Linked DNA regions of Homo sapiens: region 2 is linked to region 1. The links are contacts of gene promoters, found by promoter capture Hi-C in blood cells and fetal thymus (Javierre and others, 2016). All regions are on one chromosome and are shown on one strand. The core of a region is centred on a gene start or on the middle of the fragment in contact, and the rest is flanking DNA. Distances in the headings are between cores, read along the strand shown. Region 1 holds the start of HS2ST1 (heparan sulfate 2-O-sulfotransferase 1). Region 2 holds the start of TRIM33 (tripartite motif containing 33).

Region 1 (3,868 bases), core at 1-2,500:
GTGAAGCAACATACATAGGCATCCCTATTCTCAAGCCCCAATTCATCAGTTTAGCGCCACTAAAGAAGAATTTAAATCTCCGGACCCTCATTTCCGTACTCCGATGAAGCTTTGCACTCGCGTTCCCGCACTACCCGGCCAGCCTCCCTCAGCTGGCAATTACAAGGTCCTTTGCTGCCCGGAGCACAAGAGTGCAACTCGCTACAGTGTTCACATGTTGCTCTCCGTCATCCCAGCATCTCCTCCCATTTCTGCGCACCTATCCCTTCATGAGCCCCCAAAAGAATTCGTATCCAGATGCCCATAGCTCAAATTAGAATACCCCTCATCTGACATTGCCAGGGCTTCCTGTACGACTTCCAAGAGAACACGCGATGCTAAGCGCTTCTGTCTCCGGAGACCAGCAACACACGCTCCCCACTGAGTTCGGTCTTCTCTCTCGCTCTCTCTCCGCGGAATGCCTACTTCGGGGCTACCCTTTGGCTAGGGAAGCCCAACCTTGCAACCTCTGCCCCGTGACCTCGCGAGCCCAGCACGCCGCTCAAGCTTAATTCAACCCATTCTTGGAGCTCGTGCTCTCGCTGCCCCTTGTTCCCGGTTCTCTTTGAAACCGCTTTCAGCCCCCGAGCCAGACCCCAGGTTAGATGAACGCCCACTTGCTCCGGCGGCAGCGCCTCCTCGGCCCCTTCCACAGCACTCAGCCCGGGGCAGTTCAGTTCCTCACCTAGCTTCGAGCGGGACTCCTCCAGTTTCTGGATCTGGTTTTCCAAGAAGAGCATCGCCACCGCGAAGGCCACCACCGCCAGCAGCTGCAACTTGGGCGGCATCATAATCCTGAGGAGCCCCATGAAACCCGCTGCTCGGGATCAAGACATACCGCGGGGGGCGGGGAGCGGGACCCCGGAGGCGAGAGAGACGCCGGGAGGAGCCCGCCGAGCCGGGAGCGAGGCAAAGAGAGAGCGACAGCGAGAGAACCACCGCAGCGACCCCCCTTCTCGCCTCTCCAGTCCCCCTCCCCCAGGCGCTATCACCAACGCCGCTGGTGTCCGCTTCTCCTCAGCCGACTAAACGGCCGCCCCCTCCAAAAGCCCGCGCAGCAAACAGCGCGAAGCGGCTGCCGGGCTCTCGCCTCCCTCTACTGCCTCAGTCCCCGACCCCCGCGCCCGCCTGCTTGCCCGCCTCCCTCTCTTCCTTCCTTCCCTCCCTCCTTTGCTCGCGGCCGCGCGCCCCTCCACCGGCGCTGCGGCTGCGCCGCCCTCATCCCCGCCCCCGCCCATCCCCCTCCGCCACCACGCGCACGCATCCGCGTACGCTGCTCGGCAACCAGAAGCCCCGCCCCTCCCCCCGTTCGGGTCCGCTTATTGGACGGAAGAGCCCCTGCGCTTCGCTCTTGGTTCGGTTTACGGTTGGTTTCCTCTGCCACAGAGCTCAATCAAGACGACATTCAATTGGGTAAACTTGGAGAAGAAGGCGGGGCTAAAACTGGCGAAGGCGTGGCTTCTTGGCTGCTTGACGAAGTGTCGTGAATAAAAGAAAGGAGACCGCAGAAGTAAAGAAGTGGGGAGTTTAGGCAAGTGCCTGATTTGGGTAATCGAAAGCACCCAGTGATTGTATTTGATGACTTTTAAGCTTTCATATGCCGTTATTTAATACCTGTCACTTCCAAATGAGAGATGTAAGGGCAACGGCCGTTAGCGTTCTGTTTTGGATCAGGCTCTGGAGTGGACGCCCCTAGCTTAGGGGTCCTTCTAGGCAGCCAGAAACCTGCGGAAAATGGTAGCGATGGCGGCTGGGCCGAGTGGGTGTCTGGTGCCGGCGTTTGGGCTACGGTTGTTGTTGGCGACTGTGCTTCAAGCGGTGAGTGTAGATCACCTTCGCAGCTGCCACAGGGAGAGTAGGAGTGATTGCAGCTGAGAAAGACGCAACATTCGGTCCTGGTTGAAAAGGGTGGGGAGGACTGCGCTTCCTTAATGACTGCTGCGGCCAGAATGCAACGTGGCTTAATTTCTCGGTTGATCCTTCTCCTTCCCCGCCTTGGGTTTCTAGCAGCAGTTTTCTCTTGATTTCAGATTGTCTTGGGTACGTAGCTTCTCTTATACGGCTCTTGCTAAAAACAATCTGTAAACCACACCAGGTGGGAGGGGGGAATAATAAAGCTTGGCAAGAAGTGGAGGTTGTTTTTAAATGGACAGAAATGCAAGAGACTCATGACGAGACTTCCAACTCTTAGAGGCAAGTCTTCAAGTCGTTGGTCCAGGCGAACAGTTTGTGTTTACCTCTCTCGCGCGCGTGCTCTCTCATTTTCACTACTTCTGTTAGTCTCTTAACTTCCGTTCTCCTCTGCTATTCATATACGGCTGGCTGCGCTTGAGTGCGATTTGTGCTTTTAAACAATGTTGTTGGAGTAAAAGGAGTTATCTATACCAAAGTATAATTCATTTTTGAAGTTAGTTTTTTAAATGATGTTCGTTGTCTTCTTTAAGGCAGCGTTTTTTATTTCATTTTTCTCTATTGGCAGAATAGATGGGTGACCTTTGAATGGGAAAAGTGTACTTTTAACTTATTTCTTCTCATATCCATGTTCTGCTGTGTGAATAGTAAAATTTTAGGCACAGTGCTGAAAGCTTTTACGTTTTTTTATCCTAGCTTAATTCTTCGGGTAGTCTCTAATAAGGAGACCTGGTTTAATTTACTTATCCAAGGTTGAGGGTGTTAAGGGACTACACCGGAGTCCTCTATGAACACCTGTACTTACCTTTCTCAAAGAGCTTGAAAGCATCCTGGCTGTTTGCTTTGGCTACTTTAACCAAAAGGTAGATTCTTAACTTCTGTAATTAACATTCCAATTATCTTGTTATTCAGGCATTTGGTGCTAGGAATTACTGGATCACCTCTCCCTAAACTTTCTACTGTTTAAGGGTTTTTGCACATCTTTAGGTCATTCGAGATAACATTTCAGGTTGTCTTTTTTTGATCTCCCTCTGTCTTTGACTGTCAGTTGTCTATAGCTGTGTAACCGCCCTAAAACCTAGTAGCTTAAAACAGCAATGATTTCTCATAATTCTGGGTCAGTGGAGTAGAACTACTCCACCTATGTTGGTTTTCCCCTGGCCTCATTTATGCTTTTTGTTGACCTAGTAGGTCAGCTAAACCGAAAGGTTCCAGGATTACCACTGTTTATAGTTGGTGCTGTCAGCTCGAGGACTTGGTTCTGTTCCGTGTGACCTCTCATCCTCCAGTCGGCTAGACCAACTTCTTTTCATGGCACTCTCAGGGCAGCACTCCAAAAGAGCAAAAGCTACAATGCCTTCTAAAGCCTTGCCTTGGAAATCACATATATTACTTCCATCACATATTTCTCAAAGCAAGTCACAAGACTAGTTCACATTCAGGGATGGAGAAATAGATTTCATCTCTACATGGGAGGAATGACAGAGTCACTTTGCAAAGTGTGCATACCAGGATAGGAGGTATTTATGGAATTAACTAATTCCATATGTAATAATGATAGGAATTAATTAAACAGCGTACCACAGTGACTGTGCACAGAATCCAAACTAGAAATTTGGATGTCATGTTTGACTCCTTTCCTTACATATATCATATCCAGGGAATTACTGAAACTTACTGATTTTAATTCCTAAGTATCTCAAATCCATCCACTTATTGTTAATCACTCAGGCCATAAACATCTCTCTCCTCAGAAATAACAGCGTCTTGGTTCACCGTTTGAATTATCCCTGGCTGTATTCAGAATCTAAATGGTTGGCTTTGCCTTTGTCAGCTTCCCAATTGCCCAAGCCAAAAATTAGTCATTTTTGGCCAGTTGTGGTGGCTCATTCCAGTGCACTTTGGGAGGCTGAGGTGG
Region 2 (3,614 bases), core at 699-3,198, about 28 Mb before region 1:
GCCACTCCAGCCACACTGACTCCTCCTCTAACAAGCCAAGAATCCGTTTCCCTCAGGCCCTTTGCACTTGTTATGTGTTCCTCTCCTGCTCTTCTCCAAGACAGGTTCCTTCATCTGATCAACAGGGGCCTTCTTCAATCACCTCTAACCCCTTTTACCCCACTTATTCTTTTCTTCACAGCACTTACCACTCCCTGGCATGTATCTATTCTCAATCTTTTTCTCTATTAGATTGTAAACCCCTTGAATGCAGGGAGCTCCTCTGTTTTGTAATCCCAGTGTATCTCTAAAACACTATGACAATAAAGAGGTCAGGAAACATTTTTGAATAAATTTTAAAAAGTTTTCAGGAGGCTGGGCGCAGTGGCTCATGCCTGTAATGCTAGCATTTCCAGCGGCTGAGGCGGGCCAATCGCTCGGGCCCAGGAGTTTCAGCCTGGGCAACATGGTGAGACCCCAGCCTCTTCGAGGCAAAGGGAAAAAAAAGATCAGCTAAGTCATGGTGGCGTGCATCTACGGTCCCAGGTAATTGCGAGGAGCACGGCTTGAGCCTGGGAAGTCGAGGCTGCAATGAAATGTGATGACGCCACTGCACTCCAGCCAGGGCGACAGAACGAGGAGGTCTCAAAAAAAAAAAAAGTTTTCACGTGGTTTAAGGACTTACAGCACCTTTCTTGGGAACACTAACAGGAGACCAAAGCATTTCATGATCTTAACACTAAAACAGTTGTTGCACTACATAAAATCCTCCAAATACCTTTTTTTTTTTTTCAAATAAAAAGGCAACTTTCTGAAAGCTTTTCTTTTTTTTTTGAGACGGAGTTTCGCTCTGTCGCCCAGGCTGGAGTGTAGTGGCGCTATCTCGGCTCACTGCAGCCTCCGCCTCCTGCCGGGTTCAAGCCATTCTCCTGCCTCAGCCTCCTGAGTAGCTCGGATTACAGGCGCACGCCATTACACCCGGCTAATTTTTATATTTTTAGTAGAGACGGGGTTTCACCATATTGGCCAGGCTGCCCACGAACTCCTGACCTGACCTCAAGTGATCTGCCCGCCTCGGCCTCCCAAAGTGCTGGGATTACAGGCGTGAGCCACTGCGCTTGGCCTGAAAGCTTCTACTACCATTGTTGTAAGGGCATTTGTCACCCAGCTCAACCCAGGACACTTAAAGTGGGACCTCAGAAGGACGCAGTATTGGTTATATCCGTGGCTCTCCAAACTGACATACATAAGAATCAGCTGAAGGGACTTTTCCCCCTCCGTCGGCTCTCTCCCTCACTTCCTGATTCAGGTCTGGGGACTGGCCCTGGCATCTCTGCTTTGAAAAACTCCTCCGTTGATTCTGATACGTAGCAACTCCTGAGAATCACCTTAAGATGCCAAAAATAGCTGTTAAAGAGTTTCTTCCTCACTCGGTCTTTTCAGCCTATTTCTGATAGATCCTCAGTTCAAAAACAAAAAGCAAAAAAAAAACAAAAAAAAAAACCAAAACCAAACAAACAATAAGCCCCGCTTTAGTGCTCCACGGCCACCCAAAGGAACGCGGCTGGTCTACGCACAGCAGAGACCCAGGAGGTCCCGGCGATCGAGCGGCGCGGCAGGTGAAACTTCCGCGGAGACGCCCGGGACACGCTCGCAGGGACCGGAACCGTCCCGGCTACCACCCTTCCGTATGCACCACCGCTGTGTCGGAGTTCATAACCAACCCCAGCCAAAGGCTACCCAGCGTCAACGGCCTCTGGCTTTAAAAAAAAAATCTCCCTTCGGGTTAAAGAGCCGCGGCACTGACGCAAGGAACTGGCTTCGAGGGTCCGGGACCGCTCCGCGCCCGCGAACCGAGTTCCCGCCTCCCTCGGGAGGACGTCCGTGCGTACGTGCGCGTGCCGCAACCGCCCTCCTTCAAACGCGCGACGCGAGGGCGGGGGCGCCGCGTGCGCGCGCGCTCTCGTTGGTTCGCTCTCTCGCTAGCTCTCGGCTGCCGCTCTTGCTGCGGCTGCGGCTGGGGCTGGGGGCGGCGGCGGCGGCGACGCGGGCGGCGGGCGGCGCGGGGCGGTCCGGCGGGTTCAAAGAGGAAAACATGGCGGAAAACAAAGGCGGCGGCGAGGCTGAGAGCGGCGGCGGGGGCAGCGGCAGCGCGCCGGTAACTGCCGGGGCCGCCGGGCCCGCCGCGCAGGAGGCGGAGCCGCCTCTCACCGCGGTGCTGGTGGAGGAGGAGGAGGAGGAAGGCGGCAGGGCCGGCGCTGAGGGCGGCGCGGCCGGGCCCGACGACGGGGGGGTGGCCGCGGCCTCCTCGGGCTCGGCCCAGGCTGCTTCATCTCCTGCGGCCTCAGTGGGCACTGGAGTTGCCGGGGGCGCAGTATCGACGCCGGCTCCAGCTCCAGCCTCGGCTCCCGCTCCGGGTCCCTCGGCAGGGCCGCCTCCTGGACCGCCAGCCTCGCTCCTGGACACCTGCGCCGTGTGTCAGCAGAGCTTGCAGAGCCGGCGTGAGGCGGAGCCCAAGCTGCTGCCCTGTCTTCACTCCTTCTGCCTGCGCTGCCTGCCCGAGCCGGAGCGCCAGCTCAGCGTGCCCATCCCGGGGGGCAGCAACGGCGACATCCAGCAAGGTGAGCCGGAGGCCCTGCCTGGCATCTGGGCCGCAAGGGATTTGCGCAACCCTAGAGGAGCTGGGGACGGAGGTGCTGGGGCCTGGGGCTGCTCGGACGGGCGCCATCCCGAGGGGTCTCTAAGGTGAAAGACTCGCCCCTGGGACACTTTCCAGAGAAGCTGGACCGCAAGAGATAAGGGGAGCATGAAGGGAGGGGTGCCGGCTGCGAGAGGCTGGGGGAGGGGACACTGGCTCCGAGGGAGGGTTTGTGATGTGCGGAACCCGGCCGAGCGCTGGTTCTGGAGCTGGCAGACCCGTACAGTGAGAGAAGGGGGATTTGGGAAACACGTTGTGAGGAAGCGTTTTGGCTGAAAGGGCCCGGGCCAGCGAGGTGTTGAGGGAGTAGGTAAGAGGTAAGGGCAGTGAAGATGGATTGCTTTGGAGGGAGGGGACTTGGCGTGTTCACAGATAGGAGAGAGGAGGACTATGGATTAAATGGAGGTGGAGAGAATATGTTGGAGAGCAAGGGGTCCAGAGAAGGCGCCTGGAAGAAAATTGTAAGATGACATGGGGAAAGAGAAACTCGGAAAGTGGACTGCATGGTTAGGGAAAATCCTAAGGTTTGGGGATGAAGGAGAAATGAACTTTGAAGGAAATTGAGAGTTAGGGAAAGCTGGGCATGAATTTGTTTTAGCTAATTGGCCGTTAATGAGCCCCTAGTGTTGGGGCACTGTGCTAGGATTGAATAAAGTACTCAATGAAGACTTCATTCACAGTCTAACAGGAGAAACATATAACTTGCAGCAGTGGAGGTGAGTCCTCAGTACAATGGTTGTGGCACAATAGAGGAAAGGTCAGGGAAATTTCACAGGAAAGGAAATCCATGAACAGGTTTCTTGAAGAATGAGTACCTCACTGGGTTGGAGGGTATTCAGGGCACAGGACACCCTTCTACATCCCTGGAACTAAAGACTGTGTAGGGTGATTGGTGGAAATTAGATTGGATTGATGGGCTGAAAAGATAAAGGTTTCA

What was found. Contacts are between HindIII fragments. The CHiCAGO score rates a contact against its expected background, and 5 or more counts as called.
Region 2: a contact is called between the fragment with the promoter of TRIM33 here and the fragment with the promoter of HS2ST1 in region 1, in 1 of 17 cell types (total CD4 T cells). The highest score is 14.0, in total CD4 T cells.

What each region holds. Positions count from the first base shown.
Region 1 is chr1:86,912,017-86,915,884 of GRCh38, reverse strand. HS2ST1 (heparan sulfate 2-O-sulfotransferase 1) reads right to left here and starts at 1,250. Exons shown (of 7, transcript NM_012262.4): 1 at 725-1,250. The coding sequence starts at 848. It overlaps SELENOF (selenoprotein F), which reads left to right and starts at 1,759. Exons shown (of 5, transcript NM_004261.5): 1 at 1,759-1,857. The coding sequence starts at 1,774. RefSeq lists enhancers at 1,510-1,629, 1,680-1,839, 1,233-1,847, 1,950-1,999, 1,848-2,462. The HindIII fragment of the contact is 1,083 bases long and covers 549-1,631 here.
Region 2 is chr1:114,509,537-114,513,150 of GRCh38, reverse strand. TRIM33 (tripartite motif containing 33) reads left to right here and starts at 1,948. Exons shown (of 20, transcript NM_015906.4): 1 at 1,948-2,600. The coding sequence starts at 2,075. LOC124904348 (a long non-coding RNA gene) reads right to left here and starts at 1,813. Exons shown (of 2, transcript XR_007066452.1): 1 at 1,226-1,813. RefSeq lists enhancers at 1-751, 1,612-1,781 and silencers at 1,972-2,081, 2,112-2,411. The HindIII fragment of the contact is 2,747 bases long and covers 1,112-3,614 here.